2 separate regions of the Homo sapiens genome follow, and region 2 is linked to region 1. The links are contacts of gene promoters, found by promoter capture Hi-C in blood cells and fetal thymus (Javierre and others, 2016). All regions are on one chromosome and are shown on one strand. The core of a region is centred on a gene start or on the middle of the fragment in contact, and the rest is flanking DNA. Distances in the headings are between cores, read along the strand shown. Region 1 holds the start of RLN1 (relaxin 1). Region 2 has its middle 6.1 kb from the start of AK3.

What was found. Contacts are between HindIII fragments. The CHiCAGO score rates a contact against its expected background, and 5 or more counts as called.
Region 2: a fragment that was not itself captured here is called in contact with the fragment with the promoter of RLN1 in region 1 in 1 of 17 cell types (erythroblasts); the score reaches 5.6 in erythroblasts.

What each region holds. Positions count from the first base shown.
Region 1 is chr9:5,337,498-5,343,386 of GRCh38, forward strand. It overlaps RLN1 (relaxin 1), which reads right to left and starts at 2,379. Exons shown (of 2, transcript NM_006911.4): 1 at 2,039-2,379. The coding sequence starts at 2,249. It also overlaps a transcript of RLN2 not described here. The HindIII fragment of the contact is 10,294 bases long and covers 1-5,889 here.
Region 2 is chr9:4,744,309-4,750,256 of GRCh38, forward strand. No RefSeq gene overlaps it. Among named protein-coding and RNA genes, the nearest start is that of AK3, 6.1 kb to the left of the region's middle. The HindIII fragment of the contact is 4,823 bases long and covers 2,156-5,948 here.

The DNA.
Region 1 (5,889 bases), core at 1,129-3,628:
GTTTAAAGCGGATCTTATTTTTAAAAGGGATGCAGTGAATATTACTTTGGCACACATTGTAAGATAAAATGGTTATCTAACAGTGTAATAACGTGAAAGCAAGTAGCAATTACCTAACAGTATAAGTCTGAAAACTCATATTAATCACAAATTACTGACATGTACTTCCAAAGCGATTCCTACCTAGTAACGGTAAACATTTATCTTAATCCCACGTGCAGGCAATATTTTCTGAGGTTACTTTCAGTTAAATTATACTGCATAGCAATAAAGAAAATTCTTTAAAAATACTTTGAAATCTCATGTCTCTTCTAAAGAAATAAAAGTGTAGCTAAATATCTATATACAAATGTGATTAATGATTTTCAGCAACAATTTAGAAATAAACTAAATATCCACCAAAGAATCTTTAAGTTTATGTGGCAGATTTATGACAAAAATACTACACAGGAATTTCAAATTATGTTTTGGGATAATAACAATGTGAGAAACTGCTCAAAGTATAATGGTGAGTGAAAATGCAAAAGATATATACATATACCTATCCAAATGTTAACATTTCTTTCCACTTACTTGTTTAATATAATTTCATTTTCTCATAAAATTCACATATACTTTTCAAAGTCCTTAATATCTACGAGTGCTTCTCATTTTTCACGCTGCATTAATGTACATTTGTCTTTAATATGAGCATTACTACTTTTATAGTCAGAAAATGTGGAATAATAAAGCAAATGCAATGCAATCCGGTCTTCTCTACTTTTTATCACTAAATTCCTAGACGTTGTGGTATTTTTGTACTAATGTTATACAAAAGTCATGTAAAAACTGCCATTAAATAAATCAAACTCTAACAATGTAGAAAAGTAAATAACTTTAGAAGCATACTTTAAATCTCATAAAAGAGAAGTAAATGTATTTCTGTTAGAGTCATTTATATATAGTATATGCATATAGCCTATAAAATTTAGTTGCGGTTTATCATAAATTACATGTCATACTAATACAAAACACTTAGTATTTGCAACTGCGGTTACTTTCTCTGAATTTAATATGACCCGTTACACTTCTTAGACTAGTATATACCTCCATGAGTTTCCACTGCTACTTTATAAATACTAAAATATTTTTAAAAGCCATTTCAGATTGAGCTGTACTCAACTCTAAGAGCTTGCCTTTAAAGCAAACCCACTGCAGCTTCCAAATGCTTGAAAGCATCAGTAGGGTCTTCAGCTATGATGGTCTGAACGGCCTGCTTTCCTTGTCTCTGGTCCTCTTGAGTTTCTCCTAAAGGCATTCAAGCCTTTCCTTTCTCTTCCATCCCCTGCCTCACAAATGAACTTCAATACCCAGATCAAAGAAGCGGGAGGTCAGACTCTTTCCTTTGGGATTTTCTGTTTGTTTATTTTAAAGAACGTTTCCAATGGCAAAGGCCACAGCCCAACTTCTGGACTAGGAGAGTCATTAAGTGTAAGGCCCTTCCTGTCTTCCCATCACGGGACCCTCACAGAGACCTCAGAGTGTTGCCCCGTCCTACAGGCGCGCAAACAGGCTTGATAACTAGCGCGCCGCCTCAGTGTTTGTCCCCTCTCCTCTCTATCCGAGAAGCCCTGTTCAGGTGCCCCCACCAGCACGCCCGCTGTCTGGCCGCCTGGCTTTCCTGTGGGGTGCAGGAGTGCGCCCGGCCTCCTGCGGGTCTCCGGGCGGCGTCACCTCCTCTGAGGCTTCCCCTCCCTTTCCACCCCGTCGCTCTGACTGCCTTACGGAAAGGGCACCAAGGAACTCTCGGGTGAAGCAGCTTCCTGTTCTCAGTGCTTTCCCTCCGTCCGGTGAGATTCCCAGTGAGACTGTTTGAATAAAATCACCTGGCAAAGGAAAAGCCCAAACTTTAGGGACCAGCCACGGCTGAGTAGGGGCTGAGCGGTGGCAGCCAATGAGATCTCGAGTCGGACGTGCAGGCCGCCGTTCCAATTGGGCGGCCGCCCCAGAGTAACCAATGGGAAGCGCGGGAAGGCCGGGAGGGGGCGGGAGCTCTCACCTGCCACTGGTCTAGGTGTCTGAGGAGCATCTTCCTGGCTCAGAGACCTTTTGCTCCAGGTGCTCATGCCGCAAATGGCAATCTGCGCGCGAACTAATTCGCGGCCGCATAATTTAATAACATCGTCCTTCCATTTGGCCGCGACTGCTCTGGAAAATTGGTTCAGTAGTAAACAGAATTCTAGCAGGTGGAACAAGAACAGGCGAGGCATCCTGGGCCTGGTCTCTCCTGGAGGTCTGGGTGTTGCAGCCTTTCAGGACTGCGGCTGCTGTGGCCTACACACCTGGGCCTGTGTGCCTGTCCCGGGCTTTAGGCTGCTTTCCCTACCCGGCTCAACCAGTCTTTAGTATGGGCTATCACTCAGCTTTTAAGGCAAGGTTGCCAGCTCCACCCCTTTCCCACACCCCTCCACAGAATTTTCTCCTTCAGCTCTTGTTCTGCCTCTCCGCCCTTCCTTCATTTGCCCATTCCTCTGTCCTTGGCCCTTTTACAGTTTTGTTTTTCGCTCTTTTGTTACCCTGAAACAACTTTGTATACTTAGGTAAAGTTATTTTAGATATGAAGCCTTTCTTTTTACATACACAGAAATAAAATTGAGATCGCCAATATTCTTACAACCCAGTTTTCCAGAGTGAACATTTGCCAAAAACCCTTCTAACCTAAATAGGATTATAGATTACCTTATAAATTGGATTAATTAGTATAATGTTGGGCATATCAATCCATAAAAATATAATGGATGAATGAATAAATTGTTGATGAGAGGGAAAACTGATGACTTTTAATCTGAATCCAGGTAAAAAGATTAAAATCCCCAGTAACATCATTTTAGGCTTGTGCAGTAATGTCTTTAATTTACAAAACAATTTCTCCATTGGACTTTCCTTCCACTCCTGTGGGAGAAGTTTGATTGTAACTAGTTGTCTAAATATTTTAATTTAAAATTCTAGTCTATGTCTCTGGAGACTGGAGAACACACCACACACACAGAGAGAGAGAAAGAGAGAGAGAAAAGAAGAAGAGAAAGAAGAAGGGGAAAAAAAGCAGTGGACATCCCACATTCCCAGAAATAATATTTTGATAACAAATTACAGCACAAGGATATGTTCATTTGTTTACTGTATTTTGTGTTTGCTGCACCTGGTTAGAGGTGATTCTTTTTTTATTACCACCACCTAATTTAGCATTTTAAAGATCCACACAGTTCTAGATAATATGGTTAGTAGACGACCCTTCTACCTGTAAATTTTTAGTACAAATAGGTTCATTTTTAAAAATAACTTACTTGCTTGTGTTCATAATATACTCAGATTAGTTCAGCTCCATCAGATAAACTGGAGACATGCAGGACGTTATGGTAGCTTTGAAATAAAATAATAACAATCTCTTAGTTACAAACATAACTATGGAATCAAGTAATTCTAATTTCTAGATTGCTGGTGATTTCAGTAGGCCCACTTAACATTGGTCAAATGCCAAGCAATGTGTAATTCTTCAAAAAATACCTGACCAAAGCTATGAGATGGTTAGAGGCAATTAATGATTTTAAATGGATTTTCACTAAAACACACAGTTTGAGAAAGGCCTCTCAAAACTGAGGTTTGAAAATATTTTCGTGGGTTAACAGTCCTTGTAAAAACAATCCACGTGCTAGGCTGTACTCCAAATTAATTGCTCATTAAAAATGTAAATTTCCAGAGTTTTTTGTTTGTTTTTGGGTGATTTTTTTGAGACAGAATTTGGCTCTTGTCACCCAGGCTGGAGTGCAATGGTGCAATTTCGGCTCACTGCAACCTCCACCTCCCAGATTCAAGCGATTCTCTTGCCTCAGCCTCCCAAGTAGCTGGGATTACAGGCATGTACCACCACACCCGGCTAATTTTTGTATTTTTGGTGGAGACTGGGTTTCACCATGTTGGATAGGCTGGTCTCGAACTCCTGACCTCAGGTGATCCACCTGCCTCGGCCTCCCAAAGTGTCCAGGGATGTTTTGAAATTTTATGTTGCCTACATGGTTTTACAGAGTCCTTAAAACTGTCCAGTACAGTGGCCACTTTTCCATTTTACAGAAAGAAGAAACAGATTGAGAGTTGTTCAGGGTAATTTTGGCCAGCACATATGCCAGATGTGGGCTTACCCTACTGCTAAGGATCACAGGCAAATGCAAGATTCACAGTCTTTACAGGCACAACTAAAAGGCATTTCATGTCCTTTAAACAAAAAGGAAACCTTTTTAAGGAGAAACAACAAATATGTCCATGCATACAGCTGTCACATGCTGGAGGTGGGGTTCCAACCCATGTCTACTGGATTCTTCTACAGTAATGAGAGAGGACTTTAATACTCCACTCTCAACAACATACAGATCAAAGACACAGAAAATTAATACGGAAATATTGAAACTGAATTGCACTGTAGACAAAATGGCCGTAACAGATACATGCAGAACATTTTATCCAACAGCAGAATCCGCATTTTTCTCTAGTGCACATTCTCCCGGATAGACCATTTGGTAGGGCACAAAACAAGTCATAATAAATTTAAGATCAAAATCACATCAAATATTGTTCCTGACCAAGATGGTATGAAACTTAAATCAATAACAGGAAAAATATACGGACATTAAACAAAATGCTCTTGAACAACAAATGTGTCAAAACAGAAACAAAAAAAAGGAAATTACAGAATATCTTGAGACAAATAACATTGGAAACACAATATACCAAGACCTATGGGATGCAGCAAAAGCAGTTTTAAAAGGGAAGTTTATGTAATAACAATAAATGCCTACATTAAAAAAGAAGAAAAGATCCCAAATAAGTAGCCTAACATTACAGCTCAAGGAACTAGAAAAAGATGAAACTAAACCCAACTTTAGAAGAAGGAAAGAAATAATGAAAATCAAAAAAAGAAACAGAAAAATCAATACAACTAAGAGTTTTTTTGTTGTTTTTTGTTTTTATTTTTTGAGACAGAGTCTCACTCCATCATCGAGGCTGGAGTGCAGTGGCACAAGCTCAGCTCACTGCAACCTCCACCTCATGAGTTCAAGCGATTCTTGTGCCTCAGCCTCCGAGTAATTGGAATTACAGGCACGAGACACCATGTCTGGCTAATTTTTGTATTTTTAGTAGAGATGAGGCTTTGCCATGTTGGACAGGCTGGTCTCAAACTCCTGACCTCATGTAATCCACCCTCCTCGGCCTCCCAAAGTGCTGGGATTACAGGCATGAGCCACTGCACCCAGCCTAAGAGCGTTTTAAGTAAGCAAAACTGACAAACCCTTAACTAGGCTAAGAAAACAAAAGAGAGTACTCAAATATATAAAATCAAAAATAAAATTGGAGACAGTAGAACAGACACCTCAGAAATAAAAAAGATCATAACGAACACTAGTTCGTTATGAATAATTATATGCAAAAAATTTGGTAATCTAGAGGAGATATAGACATTCCTAGAAAAATACGAACTACCAACATTGAATCAGGAAGCTGTAGAAAGCCTGAACAGATAATTAACAAAGAAATGGAAGTAGTGATTTAAAATCTCTCAACAAATAAAAGCTCAGGACAAGATGGCCTTACAGCTGAATTATACCAAACTTTCAAAGAAGAATTAATGCCAATATTTCTCAAACCCTTCCAAAAAATAGAGCCAGAGGGAATACATTTTAACACATTTTATAAGGCCAATATTACCTTGATACCTAAGTCAGACAAAGACGCAGCAAGAAAAGAGACCTACAGGCCAATATTTCTGAGGAACATTGATGGAAACATTCCCAATAAAATATTAGCAAACCGAATTCAACAACACATTGAAAGATTATATGTCATTATCAGGTGGGAATG
Region 2 (5,948 bases), core at 3,317-5,816, 590 kb before region 1:
TAGGCATGTGTCATGGGTTGAATTGTATTCCCCCAGGAGATATATTGAAGTCCTAATCCCCAGTACCTCAGAAGATGACCTTACTTACACATAGGGTCTTTGCAGACATAAGTAGTTAAGATCAGGTCATAGTGGAAGATGGTCAGCTCTTAATCCAATATGACCTGAAAACATAGCAGGAGAATGCCATGTGACGATGGAAGCAGATATTGGGCTTATACAGCTACAAGCCGAGGAACACCAAAGATTGCTAGGGACACTAGAAGCCAAGAGAAAGACACAAAGCTGATTCTCCCCTAGGATCCTTGGGAGAGAATAACCCTGCCCTTACCTTGGCTATGAATTGTAGTCACTAGAACTGTGAGAGAATAACTTTCTATTGTTTCAAGCCCCCTAGTTTGTGGTAATTTGTTACTGTAGCTCTAGGGAACTAATACAGCTTGTTTCCAAGAAACATGTATATGTGTTTGTATGTTGCTTCACACTATGTGTTACCTAGGTGAGAACAAAAGAATAGGAGGGTTCATGTTTGAGAAATAATTACTAGGATTGTAGTGATTGTAGTAAGACAAAGAGAAGGAAGGTACATCAGTTATCCACTACTATAAAAATCCACTCCAGGCCAGGTGTGGTGGCTCACACCTGTAATCCCAGCACTTTGGGAGGCCAAGACGGGAGGATCACTAGAGTCCAGGAGTTTGAGACCAGCCTAGGCAACATAATGACACCCCCTCCTCTACAAAAAAAAAAAAAAAAAAGAAGAAGAAGAAGAACATTAGCCAGTGTGGTGGTGTGCACCTGTGGTCCCAACTATTTGGGAAGCTGAGGTGGGAGGATTGCTTGAGCCTGGAAGGTTGAGGCTGTAGTGAGCTGTGATCACACCACTGTACTCCAGCCTGGGCAACAGAGCAAGACCCTGTCTCAATAAATAAATGAATATCCTGGCCGGATGTGTTGGCTCACACCTGTAATCCCAGCACTTTGGGAAGCCAAGATGAGCGGATCACTTAAGGTCAGGAATTCGAGACCAGCCTGGCCAACATGGTGAAACCCCCATCTCTACTAAAAATACAAAAAATAGCTGGGTGGGATGGCATGTGCCTGTAGTCCCAGCTACTTGGGAAGCTGAGGCATAAGAATCACTTGAACACTTGAACCCGGGAGGCAGAGGTTGCAGTGAGCCAAGATCACGCCATTGCACTGCAGCCTGGGTGACAGAGTGAGACTCTGTCTCAATAAACAAACAAACAAACAAACAAAAATTAGCTAGGCGTGGTGGTGCACACCTGTAATCCCAACTACTCAAGAAGCCGTGGCAGGAAAATCACTTGAACCCGGGAAATGGAGGTTGCAGTGAGCCGAGATCGCACCATTGCACTCCAGCCTGGGTGATAGAGTGAGACTCTGTCTCGAAAATAAATAAATAAATAAAATATCTGGGGGAAGAATGTTCTAGAGAGAAAAAGAACAAACGCAAAGCCCCTGAGGGAGGAGCGTGCTTGAGTTTCCAAAGAAGCCATTCTGCCTGGAACAGAGAGAGCAAGAAATGAAAGTTATTCAACAAGAAAGCTCAGGGAGGTAGTGAGGGTCCAGACCTTACAGGGCCTAACAAACCACTGTGGCAAATGGTATTGTCTGAAGATGGCCACGACGCCCACTCCCAGTCCATGAGCTTATCTTCGACACTTCTCCCATCAAGAGGTGAGGTCCCTGTCCCCTCCACCTTTAACTGAATAGGCTTCTGTGACTGTTTTGACCAATTGAGCATGGTGGAAGTGATATTATGTGACTTCCAAGGCTAAGTCATAAAAGACAAAGCAGCTTCTGATTTGTTCACCAGGACACTCATTTTGGAAGCCTATAGCTGCCACATGGGGAATCTGACTGCCCTGAGGCCAACAGGCTGTAAGGAAGTCCAGATTAGCCCACATGGAGAAACCACTTAGGAACGTCCTGAGATGACATGGAGAGAGTAGTGCTTTATTCCCTGGGTGTCCCAACTCTAGCCATCTAACTGCACTTGCGTGAGACACCTCAAGCCAAAACTATCCAGCTGAGCCCTTCCTAAGTTCCTGAACCACAGAAGCCATGGGAGAAAATAAAGTGATCATGGTGGTTTTAAGTAATAATGCAAGTGAGAGAGGATGATGACTTAAGCTTGCATGGTATAGGTGATGAGAGCTAGTTGGATTCTGAATACAAATATTCATTTCCTAGAAATAATCTCAAACTTATAGAAAAGTTGCAAATACAGTACAAAGATTCTTTTTTTCTGAGCCATTTGAGATGCCCCATCATTCTTGAATACTTTCATGTATGTTTCCTACAATGACATTTTTGCATAACCACACTATAACTTTTAAAATAAGAAAAAAATCACATGACTAACATTTAATCAGACCTTATTCAGTTTTCCCCAAATGTTCCACTAATGTTCTTTATAACAGAAGTTATGAAATCATACAGTAAATTTTAGTTGTGTGATTTTCAAGATCACACATTGCATTCAGTTTCCATGTCTTTATTCTCTTTCAGTTCTCTTTCAATCTGGAGTAATTCCGTAGTCTTTCCTTGACTTTTATGACTTTGACACTCTTTGTTCATTGTTTTGTTTTCTTTTTTAACTTCCCATACTATGCCAGTGTAATGACCTTGACACTCTTGAAGATTATGGGAAGGTTATGTTGTAGAACACCCTCTCTTTGAGTTTATCTGATGTTCTCTCATGATTCTATTCAGCTTATTCATCTTTGGTAGATAATATTACAGAAGTAGTGCTGTGATTTTGTTATGTTCTATCAGATGGCATATGATTTTAATGTGTTGCATTATTGATGATGCTAACTTTGATCACCCAGTTAAGGTGGTGTCTGCAGGATCTCTCCACTATGAAATTACTCTTTTTCCATTTGTAATTAACAAGTATTCTAGGCCCGGCACGGTGGCTCACGCCTATAATCCCAGCACTTTGGGAGGCTGAGGAGGGAGGATTGCTTGAGCTCAGGAGTTTAAGACCAGCTGGGCAACAATTCAAAAAAAATTAGCTGGGCATGGTGGCCCAGCCTATATTCTTAGCCTCTCAGGGAGTGGGTTGAGTGGGGTGCTGAGGTGGGAAGATCACTTGAGCCCAGGAGGTGGAGGCTGCAGGGAGCTATGATCGTACCACTGCACTAGAGCCTGGGCAACGGTGTGAGACCCTGTCTTTAAAAAAAAAAAAAGTATTCTGTAAGAGGGTAGTTGAAGTTCAGACTTTGTAAATACCTTATCTTTCATCAAACTTTTAATTTACTCACTATCTTACATTTATTTATATGGTTTCTTATTTTATTAAATTGGTTGTAAGCCATTGTCATTATTATTTATTTTGATGTTCAAATCATTTAAGATTTGGCTAATGGAATCTCCTTCGTGTTAGCTAGCATCTGTGTCCTTTTGGCATGTCCCCATTACTCTTTGTGCACTTCTTTACTTTCTGGCATAAGAAGGTCCAGGTTCATCTTGGACTTCCTAGACCCAGCAACACATTGAAATGGCTGAGATCAACCATTTCTCCAAGAATCCCTGGTTTCCTTTAGTGGAATATGGAATTTAGAAACTGAGGCCCGTGCATTCAGTGTGCTCATTACTATTAATGTGTTGCTGCTTTAAGGCCCTCTCAGAGGACAGGGCTAAGGAATATGTAAATATGTTTGTATTCATTTACACACACGTTTACATCTACATTTATTTCTATGTTTATCTATGTATTACTGAAGCCATGAGTTTACATTGATACCTTCATTTCTGATCTAATATTCTAGGATTTATTTTCATTTTTTCCCTTCCATCCTTCACTACAATCCTAGTCTTGTCTTCTCCTCATATATTGAAGCCACCAATTTTTATTTTATTTTATTTTATTTTTTAGAGACAGAGTCTTACTCTGTCACCCAGGCTGGAGAGCAGTGGCATGATCATACCTCACTGCAGCCTCAACCTCCTGGGCTCAATTGATCCTACTGCTTCAGCCTCCCAAGTAGCTGGAACTACAGGCACATGCCATCACTCCCCACTAATTTTTATTTATTTATTTATTTTTAATTTTTTTTAGTAGAGACAAGATCTTGCTATGTTGGCCAGGTTGGTCTCAAATACCTGGGCTCCAGGGATCCTCCCACCTCAGCCTCTAAAATATTGGGATTACAGGTGTGAACCACTACATTCAGTCTTCTTTTATTCTTATCTACCTAACACAGAGTAACACATTGCTTCTGGATTTTGAGTTAGTGTCTCTAACAGACTCTCATGTCCTTCATGTATCCACATTTATGATCAGTCACTCTGTGTATACCCAACCTTCTATCACCACTGCCTACCCTTTCTCCATGCAGATGTCCTCCTCACCCCACTTGGGTTACAGAATTCCATGCCGACAATTCATCAGCCCGATATATGGACGCTGTTATCTGGCTGGGGCTCTGACACTCTATGCTGGACCAGACCACGCCCTCCAAAGACATCCTTCTCACCACTTCTGGGCTCTGACATCACAGGCCAGGCTGCTTATGACTATGAGCATTCTACTCACTCTGTGCAGACTCCAAAACCCTGAGCCACACTGTACTGCCGTCTACATGGAGAAATCTTCCTCACTCCACTCAGACTCTGGCACTTGTGCTGGGCAGCTCTCCTCTGCAGATGCCCTCTTCTTGCATATAGTTTAAATGTAGACCCAACGTGAGTCCCTGGTGGATTCGATGGATTAAAGTGAGGGAAAAAAAGAGATTTCTCCTGAGCTACTGGGAGAATAGAATTGTCATTAGCTGAGATTGGGAAGACTATAAGAGAAACAGGTTGGGTGAAAATATTAGAGTTGTTTTGGAATAAGTTAACTTCGAGATACCTGTTGGACATCCAGGCAGAGAAAATAAGGAAGGAGGCAGATGTATAAATTTTGACCACAGGGTAGAGGTCCAGGCTGGAGACATAAATTTGAGAGTTGTCAATATGTTTAAATTTTTGAGATGGTACAAGCTCACTAGGGAGCAACTTTAGATAGAGAGGAGAGGTCTGAAATCTGAGTTCTGAGGTTGTCTAACATTTTGAGGTTGGAAGATATGGAAGAAACATTGAAAAAACCTGAAAGAGAGGGAGAGGCCAATTAAGAAGAAAATTGGGTGAGTATGGTGTCGTGGAAGTCAATTGAAGAATGTGTTTCAAGAAGAATATGATGAAATGAGTCAAATTCTGCTGATAGGTAGGACTGAGAACTGATTGAAAATTATTTCTAGGCTGGGCACAGTGGCTCACGCCTGTAACCCCAGTACTTTGGGAGGCCGAAGTGGGCAGATCAGAAGGTCAGGAGTTTGAGACCAGCCTGGCCAGCATGGTGAAACCCTGTCTCCACTAAAAATACAAAAAATTAGCCAGGCATGGTGGCGCCTGCCTGTAGTCCCAGCTACTCAGGAGGCTGGGGCAGGAGAATCGCTTGAACCTGGCAGGTGGAGGTTGCAGTGAGCTGAGATCGTGCCACTCTACTCCAACCTGGGTGACAGAATGAGACTGTCTCAAAAAAAAAAAAAAAAAAAGGAAAAAGAGAAAAAAGAAAATTACTTCTAGTTGTCAAAAAAAACCCCTTATGAAATAAATTACATTTCATTTACAATTTATAGATTTAAAAAATGAGGATAATTTTGCCCCAAATTCCATAACTATTCAGCAGCTAAATTAGTGATTTCAAATTGTACTGGATGCATATAGGAAATGCTTTCTCTGAGGAGAAACTTCTGGGAGTAGAATTCAAATTATCCAGACAAGGATATTAGAGAAAAAAGAAAGATAAGGTCTAGACAAAAGTCAAGGAACAGAACAGAGAAGGTGGAACTCAGATACTACAATGTCATATTGTTTAACACTTTGCAAAAGAAACAGAAGAGGGCGCCTTAGAGCTAAGACAATTTTATTAGGAC